Linked DNA regions of Homo sapiens: all the other regions are linked to region 4. Evidence: promoter capture Hi-C in 16 types of primary human blood cells and fetal thymus (Javierre and others, 2016). All regions are on one chromosome and are shown on one strand. Each heading gives the region's core, a stretch centred on a gene start or on the middle of the fragment in contact. The rest is flanking DNA. Distances are from core to core; before and after follow the strand shown.

The links. Contacts are between HindIII fragments. The CHiCAGO score rates a contact against its expected background, and 5 or more counts as called.
Region 1: a contact is called between a fragment that was not itself captured here and the fragment with the promoter of AIP in region 4, in 6 of 17 cell types (total CD8 T cells, naive CD4 T cells, activated CD4 T cells and 3 more). The highest score is 8.1, in total CD8 T cells.
Region 2: a contact is called between a fragment that was not itself captured here and the fragment with the promoter of AIP in region 4, in 2 of 17 cell types (naive CD4 T cells and naive CD8 T cells). The highest score is 5.3, in naive CD4 T cells.
Region 3: a contact is called between a fragment that was not itself captured here and the fragment with the promoter of AIP in region 4, in 2 of 17 cell types (naive CD8 T cells and total CD8 T cells). The highest score is 5.3, in naive CD8 T cells.

What each region holds. Positions count from the first base shown.
Region 1 is chr11:67,250,092-67,252,836 of GRCh38, forward strand. It overlaps KDM2A (lysine demethylase 2A), which reads left to right. Exons shown (of 21, transcript NM_012308.3): 17 at 1-707; 18 at 2,603-2,745. Among named protein-coding and RNA genes, the nearest start is that of GRK2, 15 kb to the right of the region's middle. The HindIII fragment of the contact is 387 bases long and covers 1,277-1,663 here.
Region 2 is chr11:67,316,095-67,318,908 of GRCh38, forward strand. LOC100130987 (a long non-coding RNA gene) reads left to right here and starts at 1,745. Exons shown (of 4, transcript NR_024469.1): 1 at 1,745-2,103. RefSeq lists enhancers at 1,376-1,425, 1,466-1,895 and a silencer at 2,116-2,165. The HindIII fragment of the contact is 3,873 bases long and covers 1-2,814 here.
Region 3 is chr11:67,233,778-67,236,800 of GRCh38, forward strand. All of the region lies in intron 12 of KDM2A (lysine demethylase 2A), which reads left to right. Among named protein-coding and RNA genes, the nearest start is that of GRK2, 31 kb to the right of the region's middle. The HindIII fragment of the contact is 2,348 bases long and covers 394-2,741 here.
Region 4 is chr11:67,481,612-67,484,400 of GRCh38, forward strand. AIP (AHR interacting HSP90 co-chaperone) reads left to right here and starts at 1,415. Exons shown (of 6, transcript NM_003977.4): 1 at 1,415-1,646. The coding sequence starts at 1,548. RefSeq lists an enhancer at 1,257-1,316. The HindIII fragment of the contact is 11,146 bases long and covers 1-2,789 here.

The DNA.
Region 1 (2,745 bases), core at 220-2,719, 230 kb before region 4:
AAAATGGAAGAGAGTGACGAAGAAGCTGTGCAAGCCAAAGTCCTGCGGCCCCTGCGGAGCTGCGATGAGCCTCTCACGCCCCCGCCTCATTCACCCACTTCCATGCTGCAGCTCATCCATGACCCGGTTTCCCCCCGGGGTATGGTGACTCGGTCATCCCCTGGGGCTGGCCCCAGCGACCACCACAGTGCCAGCCGCGATGAGCGCTTCAAACGGCGGCAGTTGCTGCGGCTGCAGGCCACAGAGCGCACCATGGTACGGGAAAAGGAGAACAATCCCAGCGGCAAAAAGGAGCTGTCTGAAGTTGAGAAAGCCAAGATCCGGGGATCGTACCTCACTGTCACGCTACAGAGGCCCACCAAAGAGCTCCACGGGACATCCATTGTGCCCAAGCTGCAGGCCATCACGGCCTCCTCTGCCAACCTTCGCCATTCCCCCCGTGTGCTAGTGCAGCACTGCCCAGCCCGAACCCCCCAGCGTGGGGATGAGGAGGGGCTGGGGGGAGAGGAGGAGGAAGAGGAGGAGGAGGAGGAGGAAGATGACAGTGCAGAGGAGGGGGGTGCAGCCAGGCTGAATGGCCGGGGCAGTTGGGCTCAGGATGGAGACGAAAGCTGGATGCAGCGGGAGGTCTGGATGTCTGTCTTCCGCTACCTCAGCCGCAGAGAACTTTGTGAATGTATGCGAGTGTGCAAGACGTGGTATAAATGGTGAGCAGGGATTCAGGGGGTCAGGAATTAGGGGTATGGGAGTAGGTGGCAGGTTTTCCATATGAGAACAGCATGCACCTTGGCATCTGAAAGCCTGTGGGGTCTTATGAGGAGTGAATTGACCCTTTTTCCCAAACTTTGGGTCCTGTTTAAAGATGTAGCCTGTTGTACCCGCAGATGTCATTAGGGAACTGGCCATTTGCCTCCTGGCCCTGCTCTATACTTTCCCATGTCTCATTGTTATGGGGAGGGAGACTGATTTGCGGGATAGATTTGTAGTCTGTGATAAAACTTGAGAGTCTTGCGGGCTGAAAATTTCCTCCTCAAGTCAGCTGAACTCATCACATGTTGGTTGAGAGCCTATGATGTTCTAGTCACTCTTCTGGTGCTGATAACACAGATAACCTCACTTAAGCCCCTGACTCAATTACCTCTCCATTCAGTGAGAGAAGTGGGCATGCTTTTCAAGATGAATTTGAAGGTGCTTAACATTTTTCTTCAGTTTTAATGCTCATCCCCCCAAACCTGGATCAGAATTCCCTCTTCCAGCAAGCAGAGTCCAGTTTTGAAGCTTCCTTAATGAGAGCTACCATTTCTTCTTAAGTTGGACAGACACTTGGGGGAAAAAATTGCTAGTGATGATGAACAAGGAGCTTCCCATTGGGCATTGTTGGTTTTTCCTTAAACTCTGGTATATATTTACTCTAGGATATATCCTTTTTATCTGGGTCACACACATCCTATTACAGTAGTGTGGTGTCCTGACCAATGGCATTCACTCAGGAACTTTTTAGAAATGTCAACTGTCAGGACCCTCATAGGCCTCTTAAATCAGAACCTCTTGGGTGGGCCCAGCAGTCTGCTTTAACAAGCGCTCCTCCAGGGGACTCTGATGCATGCTCGAGTTTAGAGCAGCAAAATCTGCTGTATTGTCAGCAGCTTGCTTCTGCCATAGAAGCTTCATGTGCCACTGGTAAAATTGTTTCAGTCTCTAAATAGACCCTATTCTTTGCAAACATGAGTTTATTTCCCAAATCTGAATTAATGTATAGTGTATCTAAATTCTCCTTAATATTTCTCTGTCTAGGGCTAATAGGACTGCTTGGCTCTACCTCTTGGTTTTCAGGGCAAGGCACATCAGATTCCCGTTATGTGCTGTCTCTCTTCCCCTGCCAACCAGGCTGGGGGGCAGGGGCTATAAAATATTAAATTGAAGCCAGCATGTTGTGGTTTGTGGCCTGTAGATTTGTAGACTGCAGTGGAAAGCCAGGCCTATCCCTTTCAGTTCTGGTCTGGCCTGGCTAGAAAATGTCAGGATAGCACTGAGGCAGAACTTGAGGGTGAGAGAGGACTCTGTAAGCCTGATAAAGAGCCTCTTTTGACCTGATACAGTAATGGGCTGAAGGCAGGGTGAATTGTGGATGTGCTGAGTAGCACCCTGCATTTCAGGCAGCTGCGAGTGATTGACAAGGGAGGGAACGGAGCAGGCCTTCTTAGCTTTAGACAGTAAGAAGTCTAGAAACTTCAAGAGGCTCCCTTATATACACTTCAGCAGGAACCATGCCATTTTAATACAGATGAAGGGGCTATAGACTGTTGCTTGCTATGGGTCCCTAACAACTGTTGTGTTCTCAAACACTCCAGAATAAATCAGGGTAAAGTGGTCAAGTTATATACTATCAACATGTAGGTTTGCAAAGCGTCTAGTTGTTGTAGAGTTCAAGGCAATTTTTTGCCTATTCTGTGAGGCAAAAAATGATAAGGTGTGATCCCTGTACACTTGTAGAAGAACGAGCCTCCAGGTACTCTGCTTTTCCCAGAAGCCATAAGCAGCCTGTGATGGGAGCTCCACTGATCAAGTTAATGAAGGCGAGTTCTCTTCCCTTCTATCACAGGTGCTGCGACAAGAGACTTTGGACAAAAATTGACTTGAGTAGGTGTAAGGCCATTGTGCCCCAGGCCCTCAGTGGCATCATCAAGAGGCAGCCAGTCAGCCTTGACCTCAGTTGGACCAACATCTCTAAAAAGCAACTGACAT
Region 2 (2,814 bases), core at 246-2,745, 170 kb before region 4:
CCTTTTTTTTTTTTTTTTGAGATGGATTCTCACTCTTGTCCACCCAGGCTAGAGTGCAATGGCGCAATCTTGGCTCACTGCAACCACCACCTTCCAGGTTGAAGCGATTCTCCTGCCGCAGCCTCCCGAGTAGCTAGGATTACAGGTGCCCACCACCATGCCTGGCTAATTTTTTTTGGTATTTTTAGTAGAGATGGGGGTTTCACCATGCTGGCGAGGCTGGTCTCGAACTCCTGACCTCAGGTGATCCACCCGTTTCGGCCTCCCAAAACGCTAGGATTACAGGCGTGAGCCATTGCGCCTGGCCAACCCAATATCTTTGGTCACCAAAGTCTTACGTGTTGATAATTGTGATGGTGTGAGAGCAGAGGAAAAACGCCATTTGAGTTTTCCCCCCAAATAGTACATAAAAGATTTGCCTCATTTAAAAAATAACCACACATGTTCTATTTTATGGAATCCATCAGTTAAGTGGTCATTTATTGATGAACATTTAGGTTGTCTGAGGGCTCCCCCCCGCCCCCATTCCAGGTAATGCTTTATAAAGCACTTTTGTGGCCGGGCGGGGTGGCTCACGCCTGTAATCCCAGCACTTCGGGAGGCCAAGGCGGGTGGATAACGAGGTCAGGAGATCGAGACCATCCTGGCTAACACGGTGAAACCCCGTTTCTACTAAAAATACAAAAAAATTAGCCGGGCATGGTGGCGGGCGCCTGTAGTCCCAGCTACTCGGGAGAATGGCGTGAACCCGGGAGGCGGAGCTTGCAGTGAGCCGAGATAGTGCCACTGCACTCCAGCCTGGGCGACAGAGAGAGACTCCATCTCCAAAAAAAAAAATCTTTTCTTTTTTTTTTTTTGTGCCACGACGCTGGCTAATTTTCATATTTTTAGTAGAAGAGGGGGTCTCGCCATGTTGCCCAGGCTGGTCTCTAACTCCTGACCTCAGGTGATCCACCCCCTCCGTCTCCCAAAGTCCTGGGATTACAGACGTGAGCCACCGCGCCTGCCCCAATACCATCGTTTTCTAGAAATGAGGAAACTGAGGCTCAGAGAAGTAACTACTAATCTCTAACAGAGCCGGAATCAGATCCTAGGTTTCTAGATTCTCATTCCAAGAGACTAACGCGGGAGCGGGGAAGGTGGCTCCTGGGCAGTCAACTGACTGCACATTTCCGCCCAAGGCGGGACCTGGATCCAGAAGTGCTTGGAGCTCGCGGGTGGGAGGATCAGGATGACTGCTGCTCCCGGAGCCCGACTTCAACTCCCACCGGGCATAGGAGCCTCTCAGCAGCGCGAGGGGTCGCCCAGCCTGGACCTGGAACGCTTGCAGCACGACCGTCGCGCGCTTCCCTCCGGAACCAGCTCCCACCGTCACAGCCCCCTCCCTCGGCCGCTCCCGGCTCAGCCCAGGCTGGGGCGGGGCCTCGGAAGCAACTGCCCTCGCCCTAGCCAGGGCTGCCGCTTGTTAGGCCAAGTTTTCAAACGGCAAAATCAACCGCGCTGAAGAGACTGTGCCTCCTTCTCTTCACTCCGCATCCCAGACGCCTCAGAGAAACTACCTTTCAGACCTTCGCGGCCTCTCCTGCGCCCGCAGCGCCCGGCAGCTGGGGACCCGGGCTTAGCCACATCGACCGCAACGTTCGCGCGCCACCTTGTGTCCATTCCCTTAGCCTCCAGGGACAACCCGGAAACCACATTTCCCAGCGTGCCGAGCGCCTCTGCGCAGGCGCAAAGAGTTTCCCTCGTTGCCATGGGAACCTCGCCCCTTCTAGAGTCCTGGCCGCTTGACTCAGCTAAGCGCGAAGGTGTTGTTTCTTCCTGAGGTGCGCTGGGGCTGGGACCCGGTCTGCAGAAGGTCCAGGGGATGGCGTCGGGGGATTGAGGAGAGGAGACCAAGCCGGCCTTGCCTCCGGGACCAGCGCTTCCAAATTCTCTGGGGCGTCCCGGCGCGCACACGCTCCTGAGGCCTCGGCGTTCTGAGGAAAGGGGCTGGCGTGGCGACCCGGGTCCTCGAGGCCGAGATCTGGCTGTGGCCCGCGAAGCCCCGCTTGCCCGCGCCAGCGTCTTGTCACCCCGAGCCGAGGGCCTGCGCGCGGCCGACAGGTACTCCCGGGCGCTGGCAGCCCACGGGGAGGGTTCGCGGCGCAGGTGAACGCGGAGGTAGAATCAGACAGGGCAGTGAGTGCGCCCGGGGCTGGATCTGGCTCAGCCGCTGGTGGATTCGGAACCCGGGAGGCCCCCAGGCCCGGTGGGCTTCAGTTCCCACGCTCTGTAAAATGGGGCTTGGACTGGAATTCTAGTGTCCATTGAGATTCTGTTGCAGAGCAGCCCCCTGGCTCTGTGTGACCTACGAGTTCCTTCCTCTGTAAAATACGGAGGCTGAGACCGATGATCCTAACGTCTCTTCCTACGGTGCAGTATGTTACACACTGCTGGCCCCATTGCCCCTTATTGCACCCCAAGTGCAAGAAGAAAGAAGGGGACCTGGGATGATCTGAGCAAGACTCTCAGCTTGGGATCTAGAGTCAGAGAAACTTGGGTTTGTGACTTTGGGCAAAGTTAGGACATCTCTTGAGACTCAGCTTCTTCATTTGCAAGATTGGGGATAATGTTAATACTACCTCAGGTTTTTGAGGATTAAATGAGATGACGCATGTAAGTTTTTAGCCCAGGGACTGCATAGAGGAACTGCTATCCCAGGTCCCAACTATCGTTTCTGATAATTTCTACAATAGTCCCTAGCCACCATAAGACCTTTTCTTAATTTTTGAATTCACTTTATTTCTGGGCAAGTTCATTCTCCTAAGCAGGGCG
Region 3 (3,023 bases), core at 318-2,817, 250 kb before region 4:
AGCAGAGTCAGCAAGAAGAGAGGGGAGTTAAGAAGAGACATCTAAAGAGGAGGCTTAGCATTATGAAAAGTGTCCGGAGATAGCTTGCTTGTGTTTATCAGGGACCACTGAAAAACGTGACTGCCATCACTGGCTAAGATATAGTGGCAGAGGCCAGAGCATGAGGAACAAGTAGCCAGTGAGATGACTACACAGGCCGACAGTGTTTGAATTCTCCCTCCAGAGACTTGTCCACAGCTTCTCGTTTACCCAAAACCACAGTCAAAATGTAGCTGACGTCAGAAGACAACAGATTTAGATTCCAGCTCTGCAGGTGTAGTTTCACTTAAGATCAAATAGATTAATTATTCCTATATTTGATCAGTTATGCTAAATCTCAGAAAAGATATAGCAAGCTTAGAGCTTGAATACCTTGAGAATCTAAGCATCACTCAAAAGAAAAAAGCATTAGATTGGGTAGCTGCTGAATCACTGCACAGCTGGGGACTTTCAAGTGCTAGAAAACTTGGTGCTTATAGCACTGATGGCTATACTTCAGTGGGGGACAAAGCTAGTACAGTTTACCCTTCCTGCAGAGAAAGGAATTGTTTGCTGTTGTAACCTATCTGGCTTTCAGGAATAATTAGTAGAAGAGATGAGGGGAAAAGTGGTAGATGAGATATTCATAATATTCCAAGGAAAAATAGTGCATTTCAGTGCTGTGATAAAAGGGCTTTTTTTAGGTTCTAAGGCGTTGAAGAACAAGTCATAGAATATAGAGTTGGAAGAGGATTAAGTGAAAAAATAGGACATTAAAAAGTACTGACTTGGGCTGAGCCCAGTGGCTCACACCTCTTGTCCTAGTGCTTTAGGCGGCAGACGCAGGCAGATCTCTTGAGACCAGCCTGGGCAACGTGGCGAAACCTCACCTCCACAAAAATACAAAATTATCCAGGTGTGGTGGTGTGTGTTTGTGATCCCAGCTACGTGGAAGGCTGAAGTGGGAGGATCACTTGAGCTGGGCAAGTTGAGGCTTCACTGAGCTGTGATCTCACCACTGCACTCCAGTCTGGGCAAAAGAGTGAGACCTTGTCTCAAAAAGAAAGTAGGCCGGGCATGGTGGCTCATGCCTGTAGTCCCAGCACTTTGGGAAGCTGAGGCGGGCGGATCATGAGGTCAGGAGATCAAGACCATCCTTGCTAACATGGTGAAACCCCGTCTCTAGAAAAAATACAAAAATTAGCCAGGTGTCTTGGCGGGCGCCTGTATTCCCAGCTACTTGGGAGGCTGAGGCAGGAGAATGGCGTGAACCCGGGAGGCGGAGCTTGCAGTGAGCCCAGATGGCACCACTGCACTCCAGCCTGGGTGACAGAGCAAGACTCCATCTCAAAAAAAAAAAAAAAAGAAAAAAGAAAGGAAGTATTGCCTTACCGGTAAACTGGTAAAGCTATCAGCGTGTGTATGAGGTTCTGTTTGGGAGGGGTTGTGGGTAATGTTGACTCTTGAAAGTGTACATAGGTAGAATAGGGTTTTCCTACTATGAGAATTTTTTTTTTTTTTTTTTTGAGACTGAGTTTCACTGTTTTTGCCCAGGCTGGAGTGCAATGGCGCAGTCTTGGCTCACCACAACCTCCACCTCCCAGGTTCAAGCAATTCTCCTGCCTCAGCCTCCCGAGTAGCTGGGATTACAGGCATGCACCACCACCCTGGCTAATTTTGTATTTTTAGTAGAGACTGGGCTTCTTCATGTTGTTCAGGCTGGTCTTGAACTCCTGACCTCAGATGATCCACCCGCCTCTGCCTCCCAAAGTGCTGGAATTACAGGCGTGACACCGCGCCCGGCTGCTTTTTTGTTTTGTTTTGTTTTGTTTTGTTTTGTTTTTGAGACAGAGTCTTGCTCTGTCACCTAGGCTGGGGTGCAGTGGCGCCATCTCGGCTCACTGCAGCCTCCACCTCCTGGGTTCAAGTGATTCTCCTGTCTCAGCCTCTGAGTAACTGGGTCTACAGGCACGCACCACCACTCCAGCTAATTTTTGTATTTTTAGTAGAGACGGGGTTTCACCATGTTGGCCAGGCTGGTCTTGAACTCCTGACCTTGCGATCCACCTGCCTTGGCCTCCCAAAGTGCTGGGATTACAGGCGTGAGCCACTGCGCCCGGCCAAGATATCCTTAACATTTCTAAAATTGGAAAGTTGTATTCTTGATATATGTTGAATAAAAAGGTAGGACATGTAACAGTATGTATAGTACCATCCCATTAATGTAAGAAAAAGTGTATGCGTATTTGTGCATTGCAGAGGAATCTAAAAGGGTACATCCCAGCCTGCTAATAGCAGGGCACAATAGGATAGTAGTAGTCAACTGGAAGAATTTGTGGTTTTTTTGTTTTTTGAGATGAAGTCTTGCTCTGTCACCCAGGCCGAAGTGCAGTGGCGTGATCTAGGCTCACTGCAGCCTCCGCCTGTCGGGTTCAAGTGATTCTCCTGCCTCAGCCTCCTGAGTAGCTGGGATTATAGGTGTGTGCCACCACGCCTGGCTAATTTTTGTATTTTCAGTAGAGATGGAGTTTTACCATGTTGGCCAGGCTGGTCTTGACTCCTGACCTCAAGTGATCTGCCTGTCTAGGCCTCCCAGAGTGCTAGGATTATAGGCATGAGCCACCACGCCCAGCCACAATTTGAGTTTTTAATCAGATTGTTGTTTTTGTTGGTATTTATTTTGGTGATAAAGTAGTTCTTAATATATATGCATATATAAAAGAAGCTTTTTATATAACAATATATCTGGCGGCCCAGCTCACTTAATAAAGCAAATTCAATATTGTTGAATACTTTTCGACTTTCCTGTTTTCTCTAAACATTTTGATAAGCCTGCCAATCATACTTTGTGACTTTTGGGTAAGTTACTAAATTTATGGAAACCTATTTTCTCCTCTATAAAATATCTGTGAGATTGTTGTTAAAATTAACAAGATTAGTAAAATACTTAATAAGCAGTGCATTATTACAGCCAGAAAAAAGTTAGATGTTACAAATCTATGAAA
Region 4 (2,789 bases), core at 165-2,664:
TGCTTTTTTTTTTTTTTTGAGATGGGGTCTCACTCTATCACCCAGGCTGGAGTGCAGTGGTGCGATCTTGGCTCACTACAACCTCCATCTCCTGGGCTCAAGCAATCCTCCAGCCTCAGCCTGCTGAGTAGCTGGGACCACAGGCGTGCACCACCACACCACCTAATTTTTTGTATTTTTGGTGAAGATGGTATTTTGCCATGTTGTCCAGGCTGGTCTTGAACTTGTGAGCTCAAGGAGATCCAGGAGATCCACTTGCCTTGGCCTCCCAAAGTGCTGGTATTAGAGGCATAAGCCACCACACCTGCCCCATACTGATGCATTTTTACATGACATTAGTGAATTCAATTAGCCTAGTATTTTATTTAGAATGTTTCATATCAGCTGGGCGCTGTGGCTCACGCCTGTAATCCCAGCACTTTGGGAGGCCGAGGTGGGCGGATCACGAGGTCCGGAGATTGAGACCATCCTGGCTAACACGGTGAAACCCTGTCTCTACTAAAAATACAAAAAATTAGCCGGGCATGGTGGCGGGCGCCTGTAGTCCCAGCTGCTCGGGAGGCTGAGGCAGGAGAATGGCGTGAACCCGGGAGGCAGAGCTTGCAGTGAGCTGAAATTGTGCCACTGCACTCCAGCGTGGGTGACAGAGCGAGACTCCGTCTCAAAAAAAGAAAAACAAAAGTTGTTTTAGCCCCAAAGTACCTCATTTCTCTTTTCTTTTAATTTAATTTTTTTTTTTTGTTTTGTTTTGAGACAGCATCTCGCTCTGTCGGCTAGCCTGGAGTGCAGTGGCACGAACACGGCCCACTGCAGCCTCGAACTCCTGGGCTCAAGCGATCCTCTCGCCTCGGCCTCCCAAAGTGGTGGGGTTACAGGGCCACCGCGCCCGGCGCTAAAGTACCTCATTTCTATCATTCATCGATTATTCCCTAATATTAATTGGGCACAACTATGACTCATTTCCGACCCCGCAATGGGCTCTCTTGGTCTCCTTCTCCACCTTTCTTTCCCTCTTCCTCTTTTTATTTTTTGAAAGAGGAAGATCCAGGATGCAAGAGTCCCGACAATCATACTAGATATGCGAAAGAGAAAAAGCCGGAAGAAAATACACAAAAATCATAACACTTTGAGGGTGTGGCTTACGGGTGTTTTTTTTTTTTTTCATTTTCCTAACTCTGCAGTGCTGTTATATTCCATCCACAACTTCAAACAAAGTGCCACACGGCCGCAGTCCCAATCAATTCAATGACAATTGTTAGGGACGTCCTCGTCCCGCCCGGCCCGCGGACCCCGGCCCTTCCTCCTTGACAGGCTGGGGTCCAGCCCCGAGACATTCCTAGGCTCCGCCCCCGAGCAGACGCGCGCGCTCAGCCCCAGCGCAGAGAACCAATCACCATCCGTTTCCACGCTCAGTCCCTTTTGGCTTCTGCCCTCAACCAAAATGGCGCTAGCTCGGAAGCTGCCGAGGTGCTAGGAGTTGCCGAAGCAAGTCCGGAAGCTACCGAGCGAGTCCGGAAGTTGCCGAAAGGGAGCAGCGGGGAAGGAGGATGGCGGATATCATCGCAAGACTCCGGGAGGACGGGATCCAAAAACGTGTGATACAGGAAGGCCGAGGAGAGCTCCCGGACTTTCAAGATGGGACCAAGGTTCGTGTCTACCCTACCCTTCTCCCCCTCTGCGGCGTGGTGCGCATGCGAGGCGGGAGGAGGCCTTAGGCGAGAGGTTGCGCATGCCCAGAGGGCAGCGTCCACTGCCCCTACCGCTCACATGCAGAACTCGACGCTGATTGGGCTGAATTTAAGTAGGGGGTGAATTCGGGCCTGTCTGCCCCGCCCCCTGGCTCGGCCTTGTAGCAGCATTGGTGGGGGAGGCCGTCAGTCATCACAAGCGGGTTGGGGTTGGGGGTTGATCTCAGTGCTTGGGCAGACCCCACGCTGGAGGAAACCCAGGGCCGGGAGTGGTCCTCGGGTATCTGGGTTTCAAGGCTCATGATCCTTTGTAGATGGAAGGGCCTTCTGAAAACACTTAGACCAACTGCCGCTGTTTAGAGTGGAAAACCAAGACCCTGGGACGTGCAAAGCCGGAGAACGGGCCCAGAGGTCAGGTCTCCCAGACAGGGACTCTTTAGCAGCCTTCCTGCTGCACTAGGGGCTTGTTGGGACAGATGAGGGTTGGGAAGTAAAGAACCTCCCACTTTTCTCCTTTTTGCCAGGCCCCCAGATCCAGCCCCTCTGCCCGCTTCTCCCCCAACCTACAACTCCAGGCTTCCCTGCTTCTCCTGTAGTTGCCTCCTCCCGGAGTGCTTTTCCCAGCTGCCACTTGTTTGCAGAGTAGGGAACCTCCCAGGGGCAGCCCCTGTGCCCAGCAGAGCAGTCAGGCAGGACATGCACATTGAGCAAATGAGCACATGCCCCCTGGCCAGCACCGTGCCGAATCGGGCAGCTAAGCATCCTAGCCCAGTGCAGTATAAGTGCCCTGAGAGCAGAGGGGAGCTGCATGGCTGGAGTGATCCGCTGTATGAAAAGATATCTTCTCTAAGAAGAGACAGGATGTGTGGTGTGGGTTCATGCCCCCATGTGCTGGGGGGTTGGTGGCGTTGGAAGAAGGGGCTGGCAAGGGGGATCCTGGATGGAACAGACATCAGAAGGAGAGATGTGAACAATGGCACCCCAAGATCAGAAACAGGTGGTGTTAAATAACCAATCGCCAGCACTGATTGAGTGCTCACTATTCGAACATTGTGCTACATGCTTCACACGTTTATTTCCTACAATGTGAGATAGGTACTG